Regions from separate parts of the Homo sapiens genome. Here region 2 is linked to region 1. The links are contacts of gene promoters, found by promoter capture Hi-C in human tissues and cell types (Jung and others, 2019). All regions are on one chromosome and are shown on one strand. Each heading gives the region's core, a stretch centred on a gene start or on the middle of the fragment in contact. The rest is flanking DNA. Distances are from core to core; before and after follow the strand shown.

Region 1 (3,676 bases), core at 565-3,064:
CACCCAAGCGTTAGGCACGTGTGGGCCGGAGTTTACACAGGAGGACCTTAGCGGGGCGTCTAAAAGAAGGGTGGCTCAGCAAACACGGGGCAGTGCGCCCTGGGATTCACAGTGGGAAGTGAGTGGCCTGCCTCGGCCATGCCAGCTGCGCCTGACCCTGTCGGGAAGGATTAGCTTTAATGAGGGGTCCGGACAGCCCATTCACTGCGCACTCCCACCCTGCCCCGGGAGAGCAAAATAACTTTCTCTACGGAGCACTCTGGTGTGTGTGTGTGTGTGTGTGTGTGTGTGTGTGTGTGTGTGTGTGTGTGTGTACACAAACATTTACTTGGTTGGCTGAGGCGGAGGGTGTGACCCAGTGGGCCACACCTCCCACCGCCCTACCCCGCTACGTGGAGGCGAGGAACAGTGGCCGCGGGCTACCGGGGCGCCTTCCGAAAAGAGAACCACTACGCGGCCCGCCGCCCCTCTGGCTGGACAAAGTGAAGCCGCAGGCAGATCCGAGTCGCCAATGTCCTCCCGGGCGGCTGGCGCGGACGGGGCTGAAGTTCAATGCAGCCTGCACGGATTAGGGAGCTCCGAGCCCCCAAATACCACAGAGACCCAAAGTACACTCCCGGGGCGGGGGAAGGGAACGGCGGCAGAGGAGACCCCCGCTCCAGGCCCAGAAACGCCCGGAGAGAAACTGGAGCGGAGGGGGTGCATTGGAAGACGCAGCTACACAGCTCCCCCCAACCCCCGCCCCGCTGCTTTCCCCACCCACCGCCCCTCCCCTCTCCTCCCTCCCCTCCCCTCTCTCCGTCTCCAGCAGCCGAGCGCGGGCTCCACCTCCCCGGAGCGCAGTCCACACCGTCCCTTTTCAGCAAAACAACACAACGCACCGCCCCCCGCACCCGCACCCGGCTGGATACCGGGCTACGCCCAGCCGCCCACCCGCCGCGCCCGGCGCCCCCTCTAGTCTGCAGCCGCCCAGCCCCCGCCCCAGGCGGAGCCCCAGCCCTGGCTGCACGCGGGCAGAGAGAGAGATTGAGCCCCGGCTCCGCCAGCCCAGCTCGGGCCCTGTCCCTCTACCCTTTCCCCAAGCCGCCCGAAGTGACAGGAGGGGCACGCACGGCGCGCGCGGGGCGTCCAGCGTTAACCGCTTCGGCGCCGGGGACGGGAGCGACAGGAGGGCTGGGGAGCAGGGGACCGAGTGCTGGGACTCACCGGAATGTGCACGCGCAGCGAACGCCTCTTCTGGCTGGCATTTTTCTTGCCGCCGCTCCCGCCGGGGCTGGAAACATCTTTTTTCTTCTTGGTGTCCATAACCGCGCTTCCCATAACTCTAACCAGAAGTTGATTCTGCGAAACTCCTCGGGGGTTCGGTCCCCTCCTTCCCTCCCCCGGCCGCTGCCTTCGGACTGGAGCCGCGCGCTCTGTTACACCCTGAAGCCACCTCGTGGGGACTTCCGCGGAGAGGGAGGGTGAGCAGGGAACTCGCGCGGCCGCCGCCGCCGCCGAAGCGCCGAATTCAAGCGTCCTTTCCTACGGAACCCTCGTAGGCAAATCAGTCAAAGCCCGTCCCGGTTCTGGTGTCTCCCCGGGTTACTCGTGGCTGAGGTCTCCCGCTGGGTGACAAAGTTTTCTTCCTTTTGCAAAGCTAAGAAACATTTTCCACCCTCTCGGCTCCTCCCACAGATTCCCAGAGGTAATCTGAAAGGCAGGTGCAATTAAAACCAGCAATTTGGAAAACAAGCCTCCTATGCCTGTGCCCAAGTGGGGAATCTGGAACCAGTAAGCCCGTTCGTGCATAAATGTAATCCTCGGCCGCAGAATAAACCAGCTCGGAGCCTGCAGCTGGGTCCGTCCTCCTTTCTGGGCGAGAGGGAGGGCGGCGGGGGAAGAGGAGGTGCAAGGCGAGCCCTCTGCGCAATTAGGCTACGGGCGGCCGCTGGCAGAAGTTCTGGCGGCGGCGCTCGCGGCCCTGCGCGCCGGAGGGGGCGCCCGGAGTCCAGCGGGCCAAGAAGGGCAGGGCGCCCGCTCCTCGCCCCCCGCCGCGCCGCGGCCCCAGGGGACCGCAAGGGGACAGTGAGGGGCCGGGCCTGGCACCGACGCAAGCTCGGGGAGCGCGGGTGGTGGGAGGCGGCGCGTGTTGAACAGGAAGTGCGCGGCGTGCAGCGCCACCGTCCCGCTCCCCGTCGCCCCACGCCGCCCTCGTCGCCGCGCCCAGACCCCTGCGGCGGCCGCAGCCGCTTGGGACTCGCTGCGAGCTGGTTTCGGATCCATCCCGCCTCCCGGCGTCTCACTGTGTGCCCTACCCTTTGAAACACGCCCCCGCGCCCGCCCTGCCGTAGACCAGGCAGCGAGGAAGCCCACAGTCTCCGGGGGCGCTGCGCGCGAAGTAGCACGTGCTTCTCGAAACACCGCAGCCCCCGGGTCCCGCCCCGCCCGGCGCGCGCACTCGAACCCGCCCAGAGAGCGGTGCGTGGCGCTGGGTGCGAGCAGGGTCTAGCCACCCCCACCCTCACCCCACCCCACCCCACCCTGCTTTTTTCAGGTTCATCAAGGTTTGCGCAGTGGATCCGCGGTAAGTGCGTGTCCCCACGCCGCGGGAAACGTGGGGCTCCTGAGACTGCGGAAAGAATTGGGAGAAGGGGAGGGCTCGAAGACCCGGGCGAGGGTTCCCGGTGCGGCCCAGGTCCTTTAGAGCCCCGGGTGGGCATCCAGTACCGCCTGCTGCCGAGGGCCCTAGAGGGGTTGGGGGAGGGGGCTGGTGTGTCCCCCACCCCCAGATGCGCCCCAGGATGGCGCGACCTCGGCTCCCTGGTGGAAAGTAGGGGGAGTGCTGGCTTGGGGGTCGCTTCCCCTCCTGCTCTAGTTTCTGAGGATGTGATGACCCCAAAGGTCATTGGCGCTCCCAGAATGCTGACGTCAGCTCAGCCGCTCCGAGTAATCAGTAATGCAGGGAGGCCACCCGCAGAAAGAACGCGACAGGGGTCGCTTTGGGGACACCATAGGGCCTTTACTCCTTTTGAGGTGCGTGCTTTCGCAGGACTCCCTCCCCAGAGGAGGAGGCATGATCAGCCCACCCAAAGGATCATCTCTTAGGAAGCAGGCGTGCGCCCACGCAGGGAGAAGCATCCTTCCTTTCAGCTGCTTGCCGGGTGGCTTTTCCAACCCGAGTTCCAGCAGCTTGCACAAAATCCTTACAGCTTGGGTGGTTCCCTGGCTCATAGGGGTGGGTTTATATTCTTTCTCCTTCTCCTCTGCTCTCTGGTCCAGAATGAAGCCAGCCTGGAAGATCCCCAGTCTCGAGACAGAGCCTGACAGGGGCAGATGCACTGGAAGGACCCTGTCTGGGTTTAGCAACCAAGCAGCCATCCTGGCCCCACAGGTGTGGGACTTCTGGGTCTTCTCCTGGCTGGCTTCTTGCTAGAGGATTTCAAGAGACCCAGCAAGACTGTATTGTCCCACTGAATGCTCAAGATATTGGTTAGAAGTAGAAAAGGGGAGGGGGTAGTATTTAGCCTCTGTCCCCACTAAAAATTATTCCCAATTGTCATTTGTGTCATCTGTTTAGCTTACAGTTTTAATCCTTGTCAAAATGATCATTTGCCAGGGTGCATAAAACACCCTATTTGATGAGAACTGGTTTTAAAGGAAAATGGGGCCATCAGAAGGAAGCCGGTTGGTGTGA
Region 2 (3,676 bases), core at 878-3,377, 850 kb after region 1:
ACGTGATGAACATGATCAGATTTCAGTTTCCCCCGGAAGACAGAATGGAATTTGGGAGATTATTCAGGAGGAACATTTGCAAAAGCTAAGGTAGGAGAATGAGGGTATGAACCAAGGCTACAGCATGGAGTGGATACATAGAGAGGATATACGTATTCGGTCGGGCAAGGTCGGGCACGATGGTTCACACCTGTAATCCCAGCACTTTGGGAGGCCAAGACGGGTGGATCACCTGAGGTGGGGAGTTTGAGACCAGCCTGACAAACATGGAGAAACCCCGTCTCTACTAAAAATCCAAAAAAAAAAAAAAAATTAGCCAGGCATGGTGGCACATGCCTGTAGTCCCAGCTACTTGGGAGGTTGAGGCAGAAGAATCGCTTGAACCCGGGAGGCAAAGGTTGCAGTGAGCCAAGATAGCACCATTACACTCCAGTCTGGGCGACAAGAGCAAAATTCCATCTCATAAGGAAAAAAAAAAAAAAGATGGAAGACTAACAAGAATTGAATGTAGACTCTGGAGAAGAGTAAGGGGATGGTAAGAAAAATTATCCAAAATTGAAAGCAAGGTAAACAGGTAAACCACACAGCTCGTCAATGACATATAAGGACAAAGGTCCATCCAAGAGGGACAATTTAGGGAATATACTTTGCTCAGCCACTAGGTACTATTGATTAAAGTTCTCAGGCTCAGAGAAGTTGCCTGTAACTTAGAGATTCTTGTCTGGTAGAAATGCAGGCTGGGGGCTGTGACTGGTGCCTGTAATCCCAGCACTTTGGGAGGCCAAGTGTGGGAGGATCGCTTGAGCCCAGGAGTTCAAGATTACAGTGAGCCATGATTGTGCCACTGCACTCCAGCCTGGGAGACAGAGCAAGACCTTGTCTCTAAAAATAACCCCCCACAAAATCCAGAACCAGAAAGGCCAGGCATGGTAGCTCATGCTTGCAATCCCAGCACTTTGGGAGGCCAAGGTGGGTGGATCACCTGAGCTCAGGAGCTTGAGATCAGCTGGGCAACATGGCAAGACCTCTGTCTCTACAAAAAATACAAAAATTAGCTGAGTGTGATGGCACGCATCTGTAGTCCCACCTACACAGGAGGCTGAGGTGGGAGGATCGCTTGAGCCCAGGAGGCAGAGATTACAGTGTGCTGAGATCACACCTGTCTGGGTGACAGAGTGAAACTGGGTCTCAAAAAACAAAACAAAACCCAAAAAACAGAACAAAACAAAAAGAGATGCAAATAATTTTCATGCAGCAGAAAAGAAAACCCCAAAGGTTATGGTCTGGTGCCCTCTAGGATATTAACCAGTTTTGGATCCATCAATTTTATCCTAATATTTATTTATTAATATGATTATAAATACCTAGCTCCTCATTTGTCCTTTGAACCAGTCTTCACATCTTACTATTTTCCTCACTAATGAGTTGAATAAAATATTTGACAAGTGTTAATTTTAATTTTATTATTTATGTATTTATATTTAATTTTTTAATTTTTTTTTGAGACAGAGTTTAGCTTTTTTTGAGATGGAGTTTAACTTTTTTTTTTTTTTTTTTTGAGACAGAGTCTTGCTCTGTCGCCCAGGCGCGATCTTGGCTCACTGCAACCTACGCCTCCTGGGTTCACACCATTCTCCTGCCTCAGCCTCCCAAGTAGCTGGGACTACAGGCGCCTGCCACCACACCTGGCTTATTTTTTTATATTTTTAGTAGAGACAGGGTTTCACTGTGTTAGCCAGGATGGTCTTGATCTCCTGACCTTGTGGTCTGCCCACCTTGGCCTCCCAAAGTGCTGGGATTACAGGCGTGAGCCACCGCGCCTTGCCTGGAGTTTAATTTTCTGGAGACGGAGTTGTCCAGGCTGGAGTGCAATGGTATGATCTCAGCTCACTGCAACCTCCGCTCCCCAGGTTCAAGCAATTTTCCTGCCTCAGCCTCCCAAGTAGCTGGGATTACAGGCATGTGGCCACCATACCGGTTAATTTTGTATTTTTAGTAGAGATGGGGTTTCACCATGTTGGCCGGGGTAGTCTTGAACTCCTGACCTCAGGTGATCCACCTACCTCGGCCTCCCAAAGTGCTAGTATTACAGGCATGAGCCACCACTCCTGGCCATATTTATTTATTTTTTTGAGACAGAGTCTGCCTCTGTGGCCAAGTGCAGTGGCGTGATCTTGGCTCACTGCAACCTCTGCCTCCCAGGTTCAAGCGATTCTCCTGCCTCAGCCTCCTGAGTAGCTGAGATTATAGGCACGTGCCACCACACTCAGCTAATTTTTGTATTTTTAGTAGAGATGGGGTTTCACCATGTTGGTCAGGCTTGTCTTGAACTTCTGAACTCAAGTGATCCACCCACCTCAACCTCCCAAAGTGCTGGGATTACAGGCAGGAGCCAACGCGCCCAGCCTTGTTAAAGTTTCTAAAAACTCTGTATTAAAGGCATTTTTTTTCTTAAAAAGTGATTGTGGATTGATGGTTTAGCTTGTGATTAGGAAATATTGTACTATTTTAGTTGTGCTTTATTTACATCTATGTTAAAATTTATATTAACTAAGCAAGTCTAATTTTCCGTTTATCCACTGAAGACACTGACCAACATTAGAGTGCTTTCAATAGTTGACAGCAATCAACTTAAAAGCACAATTATGAGAATAAAGCTTGTCAATTCTTTTTAATTTTCTTCTCCAATGGAGTGTTTTGATGGCTAGGTTGAGTGAAGCAAAAGACATATATTTTGATTTTATTTGAGCATTTAAGTTTCATATTTTGAATAACACAGTCAAGCACAGCTATTAGCTATTAATTTTTTTTTTTTTTGATGCAGGGTGTCTCTTGCTCCATCTCTGAGGCTGGAGTACAGCAGTGCGTTCATGGCTCCCTGCAGCCTCTACCTTCCAGGCTAACGTGATCCTCCTGCCTCAGCCTCCTGAGTAGCTAGGAGTACACGTGTGTGCCAGCACACCCAGCTAATTTGTTTTTAATTTTTTTTTTTTTTTGTAGAGACAGAGTCTCTCCATGTTGCCCAGGCTGTGCAGCTATTAATTTACAAAAAATTTTTTAGGCCAGGTGCATTGGCTCATACCTGCAATCCCAGCACTTTGGGAGGCCAAGACAGACAGATCACTTGAGGCCAGGAGTTTGAGACAAGCCTGGCCAACAGGGTGAAACCCCGTTTGTACTAAAAATACAAAAATTAGCTGGGTGTGGTGGTGGATGCCTGTAATTCCAGCTACTTGGGAGGCTGAGGCATGAGAATTGCTTGAACCCGAGAGGTGGAGGTTGCAGTGAGCTGAGATCACGCCACTGCACTCCAGCCTGGGCTACAGAGTGAGACTCTGTCTCAAAAAAAAAAAATTTTTTTTTTTTTTTTTAGCTAAGCATGGTGGCTCACACTTGTAATCCCAGCTATTAATATTTGGGAGGTTGAGGTGGAAGAATCACTTGAGGTCAGGAGTTTAAGACCAATCTGGGCAACATAGTGACACTCTGTCTCAAAGCAAAAAAAAAAAAAATTCTTTTGAAAGCATTAAATGCCTTGGGGTACATATCATTGTACATACGATGTTATGACATCATAAAGTAGAGCGAGTACACGGTCCCTTGATAGTTCTGCATCTGGATTTTCAGGGTTACTCAGCTTATTTTTCTTCTAGTGGAGTGATATTTTAAAAATCAT

Evidence for each region. The method cuts DNA at HindIII sites, captures the fragments that hold promoters and counts their contacts. A contact is called where the count stands out against the background at its distance.
Region 2: a contact is called between a fragment that was not itself captured here and the fragment with the promoter of PRKAG2 in region 1, in 1 of the 25 tissues and cell types used here (spleen).

Annotation. Positions count from the first base shown.
Region 1 is chr7:151,875,301-151,878,976 of GRCh38, forward strand. It overlaps PRKAG2 (protein kinase AMP-activated non-catalytic subunit gamma 2), which reads right to left and starts at 1,815. Exons shown (of 16, transcript NM_016203.4): 1 at 1,207-1,815. The coding sequence starts at 1,320. PRKAG2-AS1 (PRKAG2 antisense RNA 1) reads left to right here and starts at 1,742. Exons shown (of 3, transcript NR_038926.1): 1 at 1,742-1,840; 2 at 2,537-2,566; 3 at 3,262-3,676. RefSeq lists an enhancer at 558-677 and silencers at 868-1,007, 1,068-1,117, 1,880-2,309. The HindIII fragment of the contact is 16,422 bases long and covers 1-3,676 here.
Region 2 is chr7:152,722,780-152,726,455 of GRCh38, forward strand. No RefSeq gene overlaps it. Among named protein-coding and RNA genes, the nearest start is that of ACTR3B, 35 kb to the right of the region's middle. The HindIII fragment of the contact is 3,131 bases long and covers 563-3,676 here.